Linked DNA regions of Homo sapiens: all the other regions are linked to region 1. The links are contacts of gene promoters, found by promoter capture Hi-C in blood cells and fetal thymus (Javierre and others, 2016). All regions are on one chromosome and are shown on one strand. Each heading gives the region's core, a stretch centred on a gene start or on the middle of the fragment in contact. The rest is flanking DNA. Distances are from core to core; before and after follow the strand shown.

Region 1 (3,561 bases), core at 392-2,891:
CATGAGAGAGGGAGTGACTTCTGGTCCACCATGGTATCTCCAGCCCCTGTATTGACATTGGCATAGAGTAGGCTCAGATTAACCATTTATTTGAATTAATTAATATATAAATACACATATTTCTTTAGTCATTTACTTAAATCAGTGCTTTTGAAGGGGGATGTCTGTGTCTTTTGGCAATTTCTGTTTTTGGTTTTCACAGTGATGGCAAAGGTGGTTCCTGGCACTTATGGAAGAAGGGATGCTATATATCTTGTAATGCGTGTGGACAGTCCCATATAACATAGTCCTATAAAGTGATATGACTTTTTTTTTTTTGAGACGGAGTTTCGCTCTTGTTGCCCAGGCTAGAGTGCAATGGCATGATCTCAGCTCACCACAACCTCTGCCTGCCGGGTTCAAGCGATTCTTCTGCTTTAGCCGCCTGAGTAGCTGGGATTACAGGCATGCACCCCCATGTCTGGCTACTTTTTGTATTTTTAGGAGAGACGGGGGTTTCTTCATGTTGGTCATGCTGGTCTCGAACTCTCGACCTCAGTGATCCGCCCGCCTCGGCCTCCCAAAGTGCTGGGATTACAGGCGTGAGCCACCACGCCTGGCCTGTGATACGACTTTCAAATGACCTGCCAGACTCTCATGCAGATGAAAAGTCTTTTTATAATTATCCAAGCCTAGAAGAAACTTTAAACATAGGAACAGAAAGTATTTCTGTGCCCTTAAACACAAACTAAATGTCCGGGAATGCCACCAGCATGTCAATAGAGGGGATGCTTGTGTTTGGTTTCATTGAAGCTTTACCAAAATGTGCTCATCTTTTCAGAAAATCCCATCACCCATGGATACTGCTTGCATTTCTAGTTCCTGACGATTCTACCTCTAGGTCAACGGTATCCTGAAAACTTCTCAAATCTTTATTGTATTTGGACCCAGACATTTACCTATTGGACCACCTATTATTTTATTTTAACTTATTTTATGTCACCTTCATTTCACAATTTGGCATACCATTTAATTTTTTTTTTTTTGAGAGGGAGTCTCACTCTGTTGCCCAGGCTGGATGGAGTGCAGTGGCACGATCTTGGCTCACCGCGACCTCCGCCTCCCGGGTTCAAGCTATTCTCCTGCTCAGCCTCCCGAGTAGCTAGGACTACAGGCGCATGCCACCACGCCCGGCTAATGTTTTGTATTTTTAGTAGAGACGGGGTTTCACCGCGTTAGCCAGGATGGTCTCGATCTCCTGACCTCCATGATCCATCCGCCTCGGCCTCCCAAAGTGCTGGGATTACAGGCGTGAGCCACTGCACCCAGCCCCATACCATTTAATTTTAAACCTCATGCGTGTGTGCAGGTTAAATGGCTCCTAGGTTCCATTCCCGGGTGATGGGTGGGAGGGTGTTAAGATTTATTTGTTATAGAAAGGGGCCCTGGGGTCTCCCGCAGCCGCGAGCTGGGCGGTCCTCCCGGCGCCAGGGGTCGCTGTAGCGCCGCGCGGCCGCGCCGGGTCGCTCTCGCGTGGCCGCCCCGCCTCGGGCCCCCGGGCCGAGTGGGCGGGCACGACTGCGCCCAGGTCGCGAGGCGCCCTTCGACCAGCAGCGCCCGGGGCGGGCGGGTATAAATGGAGCGGTGGCTCCCTCGGCCGCCTCTCTCCGCCCCGGGTCGCTGCCGCCTCCGCCGCTTTCGGGCTTCGCAGCCTGAGGAAAAAAAGAGAAAAAGATAAAAAAAATCTGAAAACGCTTCAAAATCCTGAAAAAAAAAAAGGAAAAGAAAAAACGAATCCTCGGAGAACCCGCGGGGAAGTCACTTTCGTACGCTTCCGGCCTGCCCCGCGCCCGCCGCCGCAGCGCTTGGCGTCCGTCGGTCTCCGTCCGTCGGTCCGGGGGTGAGCCGCCCGCCCGGCCCGCCGTGCCCTCCCCCCGCTCGGGCCCCGAGCCCCGCGCCCCGCGCCTGCCCCGGCGCACCACGTGTCCGTGCTGCCCTTCGCCGCCCGCCCGGGGCTCGCCGAGTCGGCGCCCACAAAGATTTGGTTTCCCTCTGCCCCGGCGGTTGTAATCTTAAACCGCCGGAGCCCGAGGCCTATATTTATAGAGAAACGCGTGTCCCCGAGGCCGCCGTGGGCAGCGTCCGGTCGCCTCTTAAAGGATTTTTACCCTTCGGAAGGGGATTCCCCGTTTAATTTTTTTCCTACTTTGATTTTTTGAAATTTGGAGCTTCGCACCAGGACCGCGGAGAAGTGCAAAGTCGCGGGGAGGGCCGTATTGTGCGGAGAGCCTTTTGTCTGCGGTGCTGCGGCCGTGGGAGCCGGCCCCCGCCTCCCGTTTCCGTCCCGTCTCCAAGCCCGCCGACTCCAGCTCGTCCTCGCCGCGCCGGTGCCACCTGTGAGCCGCGGCGCGGGCCCGGGCTCCGAAGGCGCCCCTTTGTCCTGCGGCGGGCCCGATAAGAAGTCCTCCTGGCGGGGCTCGGGGTGGTGGGGGGCGGGGAGATGAACGCTGCGGCCAGCAGCTACCCCATGGCCTCCCTGTACGTGGGCGACCTGCATTCGGACGTCACCGAGGCCATGCTGTACGAAAAGTTCAGCCCCGCGGGGCCTGTGCTGTCCATCCGGGTCTGCCGCGATATGATCACCCGCCGCTCCCTGGGCTATGCCTACGTCAACTTCCAGCAGCCGGCCGACGGTGAGTAGAAGCTGTGCCCACACGTGCGTGGGAGCCCGGAGGACCCCGGGAGTCGTCTTCTGGCAGGGCCCTCCTGCCGAGGAGGGCGGCATCACGACAGCATGTTGCCACCGAAGCTGGGAGCAGGGTGCGGAGATTGAGAACGCGGACCTGGCATCAGATGACTCGAGTTTCAATCTTGTTTCTACCACTTGCTAACTGGGTGACCTTGGGCTACTTATTAGTGTTGCTGGTAGTGGGGTTGGAAACCAAGGAGACTGTAAAACAGGATTAGAGTGAAGCCACTGGCATTCCACTGCGTGTGGTCCTTGTCAGTGGGGCTGGGCTGTTAGAGATCCTTGCTTGTGCCCCTCACAGGCTGGCCAAAAAGGCGGGACGTTTGAAACACAATTCCCCGCGAAAGTTTTACATTGTAAAGCTCCTGCCCGCTCCGCCACCTTTACTAACCTTGACTACCTGATGTTGTGCTGATAAAGGATCAGTCAGGGCAGGCAGGAAGCAGGGGGAAGGTTTCTGTGCGTTAAACTTTCGCAGAGACTTAGGTTAGTGCCACAAAAGCTGCGTGTGCCAGGCCACCTCCTTGGTCTGTGTGTTTGCCACTGGAGTGGAGAAGTGCTTTACTCTGGACAAATGGTATCCAGGCTCTGTGCTGTAGAGTGTCGTGGAGGTAGTTTAGGGAAGCGTCACTTGAAAATCTGGTGTCATTTGTCACCTCAGCTGTAACAGTGCTTTGCACTAGTCAGAGCCCTTTTATTTCATCTAATCTGAAGAAAATGGGACTCCTGAGAAGGAGAACGAATGCAAAAAGTTGGAAGCCAAGTTAGGACTCCCAGCACAGTGCTCTGCCACCTCAGATTGTGGCCTTAGCGTGGAGCATGGAGAGAGGTAT
Region 2 (3,561 bases), core at 713-3,212, 720 kb after region 1:
TTAGCTCCAAAATAGATTTAATGGAAATTAATTTGGTGTCTTCTTTTGTCAAAAATAAAGGGATAGTGAATACCAATGGATTCACCATTCAGTTTCTACTTTTCAAAAAAAATTTTTTTTTGTGGGATCAAATGTTTAAATGTTAAACCAGGGTGGAATTTTAAATTTAAATTCTGAAGTTTAATAGTCATAAAATTGCCTGTTTTCTTTTAACAGGTGGTGTTTCATAAGATGTCACCCAACGAGACCCTCTTTTTGGAAAGTACCAACAAGATTTATAAGGATGACATTTCCAATAGCTCCTTTGTGAATTTCCAGATATGGGATTTTCCTGGGCAAATGGACTTTTTTGACCCAACCTTTGACTATGAGATGATCTTCAGGGGAACAGGAGCATTGATATACGTCATTGACGCACAGGTAGTCAGTAATGTGTTTACTCCTCTTTCCTGGTGGGAAAAAGATGTAGAAACAAAGGAAAGTTGTTTATCTTCTTTGTCATGTGGTTGCAGCTTATCTCTTTGGCAGTAGATTCCCTAACAGTGTAAGAGATGCAGTTGCAGAGTGCTTTGGGAGCAGACATGCATTGTGCAGGTACAGAATATCAGATGATTAGGAGATATGGTTTACATCCTTGAGTCCTAGTTGATGAGCAGCTAACATTGGCTTTCCACTTTTATTGGTTGCCATATTTTATAATAATTTTATAATAATAGTGATGTTATTCCCTGAAAATATCCCATCCCATAACATAAAGAGGAATATGAGAACTGAGTCAGTAGATATTAGAGTGAATAGTTTACTTAATTGTCAAAATTGAGTTTAGCTCAACAAACATTTATGGAGGGCCTAGCATGTGGCAGTCAGTGAGATGAATGGGGCAAGTCCCTATCCTTTAAGAAGCTTACTTTTTATAAGCTTAAGCATTAGTTAAGAATGCTTTCTGAGTGATAGGCTCTACAGAGGGTGCCTTCACGTACAGGACCTAATTAATTTAAGCTTCACAATATTGTTAGGTAGGTATTGTAATTCTGATCTTACAGATGAGAAAACTGAGATCAGAGTTTAAGCAGCTTGCTTAAAGTGACACACTGAATAAATGGCAGAGCTGGGATTACTTAAAAAAATTATGTTGGGAAAAAATGTTCATATCATTTTTTTCTTTCTTAAATTAATATTAAAAATTACAAGCATTAACTTGGTAATTGAATTTTTTTATCTTGAGACAATTGAAGAGTTATTTAGTAGTATAGTATATTTGAATGTTTGAATATTGATGATAATTAGGATAGTATTTTTCTGTGGTTGGGGAAAGAGGTGGTTTGAGGCTTTAACTCATTACTTGGCTTTTGTAAGATTTATTTTAAAAAATATTTTGTTCTGACTTACAGGATGACTACATGGAGGCTTTAACAAGACTTCACATTACTGTTTCTAAAGCCTACAAAGTTAACCCAGACATGAATTTTGAGGTTTTTATTCACAAAGTTGATGGTCTGTCTGATGATCACAAAATAGAAACACAGAGGGACATTCATCAAAGGGCCAATGATGACCTTGCAGATGCTGGGCTAGAAAAACTCCATCTTAGGTAACAACATGTGTGTTTGATATGAAAGCCCTGAACAAGGTGTAAATGTATTCCCATCTCTGTCATTACAAACACCATAGCTTTCTGCTACCTGTGTGCCCTTTGCCACATCTTTTATGTTTTTGATCTTGTTGTTGAATTCCAGGCTGTCTGGGGAGCCTGATATTGAGAAATTACCCACTTTTTGCGTTTTCCTGGAGATTGAAGTCATGTGAAGTGTTTCCACTGGTGCTTTTCCAAATTCATCTCAAGAGACTGGAGTCAGGCTGTTTCTTCATGGCATAAATCTGCTTTGGGACTCCTTCCTCTTGGTTTCATTACTTTTCCCCGCCTTGCATCAGTGAAGTGAATCTGTCACATTTGTTGTGGAAGTCTTTAGCTTGAGTCTTAGACAGTATCTTTCTCAGTAGGAACAGCCTTATACAGAGAGTGCACTTTCAAATCTGGACTGACTCTTTTTATTTTTCATTTTTATTTTTCCTGCTGGCTCCCTTCCACCTCCCCCCTGGACTGACTGTAATATATCTTAGCTTTTAAAACACTTTATACTTTTATGAAACTCTATAAAGTTTGGCTTAGGTGGGTTTATCTTATAAATGTGCATAAGGCTGCTATTAAATTTAGAGGACTATTGGTTTGTAACTACTGTTAAGAAATTATTATTAAATAATACCTACTTGATAGGATTGATTTGTGTATTTGCATTCTAAAAGTGTATGAGGAATATTTTTGTACATCTTATTTTATTTGGTGATATAGGTAGAAATGAGTATTAAAAAGTACCCAAGAAAATATTCTCTTGACGATAGAAGTAGCTTAAAGAGGGAGAAGGGGAGAGAGACAGCAAGTTATTTCTCTGTCCCCGTTCTATTGTTGTGACTTCTTTATGGGCTCAAGCTAACTGCTATCCCTCCCCCTAAAATTCTCTGGGTCTCAGGCTCCAAGATCTTTCAGTTATTCTTCTAGGAAACCATGTCGAAAAGTCTCATTGACCTCTAGTTTGCCTGGATTAAATTTCTAAATAATTTGAAAATAATTCATGTTAAAAAAATAAAAATTCAGCAATGTTTGTAGGAGAAAATGTAAGTGGCTCTCCACAAAAATTCAGTCTTATTTTTTTGGGAATCCACTGCTAATAGTTTTTTACCTGGATTTTGAGCCGTTCTTGTCCTGTGTTCCCCAGTGCTCCATGGGGATCCTTCTGATTCTCTTTACTCCGTGTCTGTGTTCCTTTCCAGGGCATCCCACCCTAGTGGTACATGCCATCCCTTTCCTCAGTACCATGTAGGGTCCTAGACCTTGTTAACTTCAGTAGAATGTTGCATCAAGCTTTTATTTAGGCCAGGCATAGTGGCTTATGCCTATAATCCCAGCACTTTGGGAGGCCGAGGCAGGCAGATCACTTGAGGCCAGGAGTTTGAGACCAGCCTGGCCAACATGGCGAAACTCCGTCTCTACTAAAAATACAAAAAATTAGCCGGGCATTGTGGTGTGTGCCTGTAGTCCCAGCTACTTGGGAGGCTGAGAGAGGAGAATCGCTTGAACCCAGGAGGTGGAGGTTGCAGTGAGCCAAGATCGTGCCACTGGACTCCAGCCTGGGTGACAGAGCAAGACTCCGTCTCAAAAAAAAAAAAAAAAAAAAGACTTTTATTTAGTACTAGCAGTCCTATGGATGAAGCTCCTTTTCATTTCCAGTTTCTAGAAACTCAGTTTACTAAAATGCCCTGTGACTTGCAGGTTCTCCCTGTCCCCATTTACCTCAAGCCTCAAAGGTGCGGGACATTCTTTCTTTGCTCACCTTTTGGCCTACAGGAAACACTAAAATATTCCTTTCTCCCTAGTATCTATGGGGTCATCTTGGCCTTACCTGTTCCAGTGCTCTTACATCTAGATTAGACCCCTGTCTTGCTAGATTAGGTTCTTAGGTCAGCTCCTTGAAAGTATTTTTTTTTTTTTTTTTGAGATGGAGT
Region 3 (3,561 bases), core at 283-2,782, 700 kb after region 1:
TCGCAATAGTCTCAATGCTCCCGGGCCCTGCCTCCGGACGCCAGGACAGAGGTACCAAAATCTCACCTCCTGCAAAGAAACCTAATTGCTACGGGGGCCGGAAGAGGAAGAGGTGCGGCTCCGACAGCCAGAGGGGCGGGCATACGCAGCCTCCCTCGGCTCAGCCTGCTACTGGGGATGCAGAGCGTCCTGGTCGCCATGAAAACAGGCCACACCTCGGCGATCCCGGCCGGTGGTTTGCAAGTGCGCAGGCGCGCGCCCCCTTCCGCGCATGAGCAGTGCTGCTCCCAACCCGCCAGTCGCGGTCTCCGGCGCCAGCTACGCCGCTGCCGCTGTCACTATGGCCCATTACAAAGTGAGGGGGGCGCGGCGTGGCTGGGGGCATGCGGGCGGTAGCAAGCCGCTGGTCGGCTCTGGGTGGGAGTGGGGTCGCGCGCGCAGGTTTGGGCGGGAGGGCCCCGAGGTAGTGAGGCGGAGGCGGGGTTGCCGGACTCCCAGCGCCTTCTTCCTGCTCGGCTCCCGGGCTCTGGCCACTGACCCCCGGTGTCTCTTCAGGCCGCCGACTCGAAGCGTGAGCAGTTCCGGAGGTACTTGGAGAAGTCGGGGGTGCTGGACACGCTGACCAAGGGTGAGCCTGGGCTAGGAGAGGGTACCTCGTGCCCTCGTCGTGCTCCCCGGCGCTGCCCCGTTCCCCAGCGGGCCGTAGCGTGGGGAAGGAGGGGAAACAGATGGGGCCCGTCCGGGGTCCAGCGAGGTGGGCCTCGGGGTTCAGCAGGGACCTGGCTGCTGGACGCCGCCCGGGTGGGGTAGCCTAGCTCCGCTACCCTTCTCCGCACCGGGAGTGAAACTCTTGCAGCTGTTGCAAAGTCTCTTCAACTTCCGTTGCTTTGCCTCCAGCAGCCGCAGTGGACATGTTTGCCAAGGACCTTCAGATCCCAATTCCTCCCACCTTACGGTTTTTATGGAGTCCTCAGAATCTTGTTAAGAAAGTTTCCCTCCAACAAAGAGCAACTGGAAAAATGACCGAATTTCCAAGTGGGCTATGAAGTAGCTGAGTGAGCCTAATCCCCAAAGTAGGAGATTCATAGCGAATTTGGCTGTGGCTTTTCAGCCCCCATTCCTTAGTCTGTCTGTGTCAATTCTTATTTTGTGTATATTTCATAAAGTAGAATTACAGCTTAAAGAGCTCGAGGGCATATCAAGGTGGTTACATTGTTTTCACTTTTTAAAATGAAAGCTTACTGTTAACGCTGTATCTCTTCATTCGTGGCTTCAAGATCTAAGTTAAGTAGATGAGTAAAGTGTTGGAAACAGGAGGATTTCAAGGGGTAGGGTACAGTTTACTTTATTGGCTTAGCACTAATTTGAATGCCTGCTATGTGTCACTCAACTCACTGGGATATTCAAGGGTGTAGAATGGAATTGTTCGCAGGGATGAGGACTTGGGTCATATGAAACTAGGAAGTTTGGGAAGTGGGAAATAAATTGGTAACTGCCCTTTGGACAGAAGCAAAGTTTAGAGGAAAATTCTAGGAGCATAACTCCTGGGTCTTAGAAGAAAGAAGGCTAGTAATTTTGAATTGCTACCTATTTGGGGTTCAGATAATAGTTTACCTCTTTGCAAATAAACTTCAGCAAGTCTTAAGGGACTACTCTGTGAAAGTACTGTGCTATGTTGTCTCTGAAAGTGTCACAGATGCTTTGAATGTCATTCCGTCTAAAAACTCCTTACGTTCATTTCTTTCATTTAATAATTTTACTCAGGTGTCTGTTCTGCACACTGGAGATAAGCAGGGGAGGATAAAAGTCTCGGCTCTCATAAGCTTATATCCTAGTTGAGGGAGAGAAATACATAAATAAATATGTAGTGTCAGCTAGTGGTAAGTGGTACAGATAAAAATACAGCAAAGTTAGGGATAAAGAGTAACAGGTGAGGCCAGGCACGTGGCTCATGCCTGTAATCTCAGCACTTTGGGAGGCTGAGGTGGGTGGACTGCTAGAGGCCAGGAGCTCAAGACCAGCCTGGGCAACATGGCAAAACTCCCATCTCTTAAAAAAAAAAAAAAATTGCTGGGCATGGTGTGTGCCTGTAATCTAGCTACTGTGGAGGCTGAGGTGAGAGAATCACCTGAGCCCAGGAGGTCAAGGCTGCAGTGAGTTGTGATTGTGCCACTGGGCAACAGTGACACTCTGTCTCCAAAAAAAAAAAAAAAAAAAAGTGACAGGTGGGATGTGTGTGTCATTTTATATAGGGTGATGGGGGGAAGGCCTTTCTTAAGAAGTAATTTTTGACCAGAAACCTGAAAGAAACAGAGTTTCAGGAAGTCTAAGGAGGCCAGAGTGGTTGGATGGAGCAAGTGAAAGACTGAATGGTAAAAGGCAGAAAAATGACAGTTGTAGGCGGTAACTGACTACACAGAAGATGTTGCCCAGGCTGGAGTGCAGCGGCATGATCTCGGCTCACTGCAACCTCCACCTCCGGGTTCAAGCGATTGTGTTGCCTCAGCCTTCCAAGTAGCTGGGATTACAGGCATGTGCCACCATGCTTAGCTAATTTTTTGTATTTTTAGTAGAGAGGCGGTTTCACCACATGGGCCAGGCTGGTCTTGAACTCCTTACCTCAGGTGATCCGCTCACCTCAGCCCCGCAGAGTGCTGGGATTACAGGTGTGAGCCACCGCCCTCCACTAGAATTTAACCTCTCAATCTCCTTAGATTTCCAGGCTCCTAAATAACATCAGCCAACACAGTATTGATGTGATTTATTAAAAATTTGATTTTCAGCTCCAAACATAGGTGCTTTACACAATTCTATTTGTTTTTTTTTTTTTTTTTTTTTTTTTTTTTGAGACGGAGTCTCGCTCTGTCGCCCAGGCCGGACTGCGGACTGCAGTGGCGCAATCTCGGCTCACTGCAAGCTCCGCTTCCCGGGTTCACGCCATTCTCCTGCCTCAGCCTCCCGAGTAGCTGGGACTACAGGCGCCCGCCACCGCGCCCGGCTAATTTTTTGTATTTTTAGTAGAGACGGGGTTTCACCTTGTTAGCCAGGATGGTCTCGATCTCCTGACCTCATGATCCACCCGCCTCGGCCTCCCAAAGTGCTGGGATTACAGGCGTGAGCCACCGCGCCCGGCCTCTATTTGTTTTTACTTTTTATTTTTTTTGAGACAGAGTCTCACTCTGTCACCCAGGAATGCCTGGCCTCAAGTGATCCTTCTGCCTTAGCTTCCCCAAGTGTTGACGTTACAGGCGTGACCCACTGTGCCCAGCCTCACAAATTTAATTTACATATATATATTTTTTCGAGACAAGGTCTCTGTCGCCCAGACTGGAGTGCAGTGGTGCAGTCATGTCTCAGTGCAGTCTTAATCTCCCAGGTTCAAGCAATTCTCCCACCTCAGGCACCCAAGTAGCTGAGACTACAGGCACGCACCACCATGTCCGGCTGATTTTTAATTTTTTTTTTTTTTTTTTTTTGAGACGGAGTCTTGCTCTGTCACCCAGGCTGGAGTGCAGTGGTGCGATCTCTGCTCACTGCAAGCTCCGCCTCCCGGGTTCACAC
Region 4 (3,561 bases), core at 344-2,843, 580 kb after region 1:
TAATGTCATAACAAGTGACAGTACAGTCCAGGAACTGACATGAATTCAAGTGGTTCCACACATAGTCAAAGTCCCTAACTTTCAGCCTAAATACTAGAACAATGTAGGAGATGCTTTAAGAGTGTTATGGGCCAGCTGGGTATGGTGGCTTATGCCTGTAATCCCAGCACTTTGGGAGGCTGAGGCAGGCAGATCACAAGGTCATGAAATCGAGACTATCTTGGCTAACATGGTGAAACACCGTCTCTACTAAAAATAAAAAAATTTAGCCAGGCGTGGTGGCACGTGCCTGTAGTCCCAGCTACTCAGGAAGCTGAGGCAGGAGAATCTCTTGAACCGGGGAGGTGGAGGTTGCACTGAGCCGAGATTGTGCCACTGCACTCCAGCCTGGGAAACACAATCAAGACTCTGCCTCAAAAAAAAAATAGAAAAACAAAACAAAAAAACAAGAGTGCTATGGGCCAGGCACTGTGGCTCATGCCTGTAATCCAGCACTTTGGAAGGCCAAGGTGGGAGGATCACTTGAGGCCAGCCTGGGCAACATAACGAGACCCAGTATTAAAAAAAAGAAAAAAAGCCTGTACATGGTGGCTCACGCCTGTAATCCCAGCACTTTGGGAGGCCTAGGCAGGTGGATCACCTGAGGTTCGAGACCAGCCTGACCAACATGGCGAAACCATCTCTACTAAAAATACAAAAATTAGCTGGGCATGGTGGTGCGCACCTGTAATCCCAGCTACTTGGGAGGCTGAGGCAGGAGAATTGCTTCAACCCAGGAGGTGGAGATTGCAGTGAGCCGAGATCACCCCATTGGACTCCAGCCTGGGCAACAGAGTAAGACACTGTCTCAAAAAACAAAACAAAACAGTGCTATGAAGTTTGTATTTTAGATTCCTGAATTTATTAAGTTTTCACCTCACTTTATTTTTTAAGAGAGTCTTACCCTGTCGCCCAGGCTGTAGTGCAATAGCACAATCTCAGTTCACTGCAACCTCTACCTCCCAGGTTCAAGCAATTCTCCTGCCTCAGCCTCCAGAGTAGTTTGGATTTCAGGAGCCCGCCACCACACCCACCTAATTTTTTGTATTTTTAGTAGAGACAGAGTTTCACAATGTTGGCCAGGCTGGTCTCAAACTCCTGACCTCAGCTGATCCGCCCGCCTCGGCCTCCCAAAGTGCTGGGAATACAGGCGTGAGCCACCGCTAGCCCCCTGTATTTTAAGATGTCTTATTCCTCAAGCCAGAGCCAATACAAGGATAAGAACTGCAAATACTTGAAACAAGAAAGGACAAGTATGAGGACAACGCTTAAGAGAACAGAAGGTCTTTGATAAACCTCTGCCTCCTGTATGGCAATGTTAACAAATGGAAAGATACAATTTTGAGGGTGGTAGGACTAAGAAGTCCAAGAATCTAAACACGGTATCCATGGGAGAAAAATAAGAAAGTTAGACATGATTTTCTTCTGTAGAAGGCCATATAAAGCACAAAATTTTTTTAAAAAGAAAAACTCAAATTTCTTTTTAACAGTGGATAATTTTAATCCTTCCCTCCATTACTTGAGGTTGTGCTGCCAGATTTTTTCCGGTCTAAGCCCATCCTCCAAACTCTACAGTGTTCCTACTGCTACAAACCAAAATTCAAACTCTTGAACATGGCAGTCAATACTTTCCAAGATGTGGCCTCAATTTATTTTCCTGGTTCCATCTGGATTCCACTATAATTTAGTTACATTACATTATTCTCTCCTTAAATTGTGGGTTTTTTGGACTTTGCTCTCATGGTTTCCCTGTGCTCGAAATGGGACTATTGCTCAAACTTGATCAAGACTCAGCTAGCCAGGCGCAGTGGCTCATGCAATCCCAGCACTTTGGGAGGCCGAGGCGGGCAGATCACCTGAGGTCAGGAGTTTGAGACCAGCTTGGCCAATACAGTGAAACCCTGTCTTGACAAAAAAAATACAAAAATTAGTAGGCCGGGTGTGGTGGCTCATGCCTGTAATCCCAGCACTTTGGGAGTCTGAGGCAGGCGGATCACCTGAGGTCAGGTGTTTGAGACCAGCCTGACCAGTATGATGAAACCCTATCTCCACTAAAAATACAAAAATTAGCTGAGAATGGTGGCATGCGCCTGTAATCCCAGCGTTCTGGGAGGCTAAGGCAGGAGAATCGCTTGAGTCTGGGAGGTGGAAGTTGCAGTGAGCCGAGATCATGCTACTGCACTCCAGCCTGGGCAACAAGAGCGAAACGTCATCTCAAAAAAAAAAAAAAAAAAAAAAAAAAAAAAAAAATTAGCCGAGCGTAGTGACACATGCCTGTAATCCCAGCCACTGGGGAGGCTGAGGCAGGAGAATCGCTTGAACATGGGAGACGGCGGTTGCAGTGAGCCAAGATCGTGCCACTACACTCCAGCCTGGGCAACAGAGTGACTCTGTCTCAAAAAACAACAAAAAAAGACTCAGCTAAAATGCTACCTTAATTCAGAAGTTATTCTCAGACTCTCAAGTCATAATCAGTTAATTGCTTTGCACATTACGTTTACAAATATTTCCTGCGGTCAGCAACCCCCTTCTTCCATGTCTGGAATTCACCTAGCACTCAATAAAGATTTAAGCAATAAAAGGCTTAGTTTTACAGGACCTTTCCACAAAAAGTACCATACAGATTGAGCATCCCTCATCCAAAATGCTTGAGACAGAAGTTTTGGATTGTGGAATAGTTGCATTATACTTACCAATTGAACATCCCTTACCCCAAATGAGAAAAACTCCAGTGAATAAGTATTTCCTTTGAGTGTCATATTGACACTCAATTTTTGGATCAGTTCAGACTTTGCAGCATTTCGGATTTCAGAAAAATTGCCCAGCTAATTTTTTAGCTTTTTTTTTTTTTTGAGATGGAGTTTCACTCTTGTCACCCAGGATGGAGTGCAATGGCCGGATCTCGGCTTACCGCAATCTCCGCCTCCCAGGTTCAAGCGATTCTCCTGCCTCAACCTCCCGAGTAGCTGGGATTACAGGCATGCACCACCATGCCCCACTAATTTTGTATTTTTAGTAGAGACAGGATTTCTCCATGTGTGTCAGGGTGGTCTTGAACTCCCGACCTCAGGTGATCCGCCCGCCTCCGCCTCCCAAAGTGCTGGGATTATAGGAGTGAGCCACTGCGCCCGGCCTTAGAATTCTTTTGTGGAAACAAGGTCTCATTATGTTGCACAGACTTGTCTCGAATTCCTGGGCTCAAGCAATCCTCCTGCCTCAGCCTCCCAAAGTGCTGGGATTGCAGGTGTGAGCCACCACGCCTTGCCCACATTCTCTTTTTTTTTTTTTTTTGAGATGGAGTTTCGCTCTTGTGGCCCAGGCTGGAGCGCAATGGTGTGATCTCCGCTCACTGCAACCTCTGCCTCCCGGCTTCAAACGATTCTCCTGCCTCAGCTTCCCTAGTAGCTGGGATTACAAGTGCATGCCACCACTGCCCCCAAAACAAAAATAACTTTTTTTTTTTTTAAGATGGAGTCTCGCTCTGTCGCCAGGCTGGAGTGCAGTGGCGCGATCTTGGCTCAA

Evidence for each region. Contacts are between HindIII fragments. The CHiCAGO score rates a contact against its expected background, and 5 or more counts as called.
Region 2: a contact is called between a fragment that was not itself captured here and the fragment with the promoter of PABPC4 in region 1, in 1 of 17 cell types (fetal thymus). The highest score is 5.4, in fetal thymus.
Region 3: a contact is called between a fragment that was not itself captured here and the fragment with the promoter of PABPC4 in region 1, in 1 of 17 cell types (fetal thymus). The highest score is 7.9, in fetal thymus.
Region 4: a fragment that was not itself captured here is called in contact with the fragment with the promoter of PABPC4 in region 1 in 1 of 17 cell types (fetal thymus); the score reaches 5.2 in fetal thymus.

What each region holds. Positions count from the first base shown.
Region 1 is chr1:39,574,870-39,578,430 of GRCh38, reverse strand. PABPC4 (poly(A) binding protein cytoplasmic 4) reads left to right here and starts at 1,641. Exons shown (of 16, transcript NM_001135653.2): 1 at 1,641-2,672. The coding sequence starts at 2,480. RefSeq lists a silencer at 1,387-1,696 and enhancers at 2,197-2,266, 2,767-2,816, 2,837-2,956. The HindIII fragment of the contact is 4,726 bases long and covers 795-3,561 here.
Region 2 is chr1:38,853,738-38,857,298 of GRCh38, reverse strand. It overlaps RRAGC (Ras related GTP binding C), which reads left to right. Exons shown (of 7, transcript NM_022157.4): 2 at 217-420; 3 at 1,392-1,591. Among named protein-coding and RNA genes, the nearest start is that of RRAGC, 4.3 kb to the left of the region's middle. The HindIII fragment of the contact is 1,921 bases long and covers 1,002-2,922 here.
Region 3 is chr1:38,870,085-38,873,645 of GRCh38, reverse strand. MYCBP (MYC binding protein) reads left to right here and starts at 298. Exons shown (of 5, transcript NM_012333.5): 1 at 298-355; 2 at 556-628. The coding sequence starts at 341. All of the region lies in intron 1 of RRAGC-DT (RRAGC divergent transcript), which reads right to left. All of the region lies in intron 1 of GJA9-MYCBP (GJA9-MYCBP readthrough), which reads left to right. RefSeq lists an enhancer at 742-1,264. The HindIII fragment of the contact is 586 bases long and covers 1,240-1,825 here.
Region 4 is chr1:38,993,401-38,996,961 of GRCh38, reverse strand. All of the region lies in intron 1 of AKIRIN1 (akirin 1), which reads right to left. Among named protein-coding and RNA genes, the nearest start is that of AKIRIN1, 3.9 kb to the right of the region's middle. The HindIII fragment of the contact is 5,767 bases long and covers 1-3,561 here.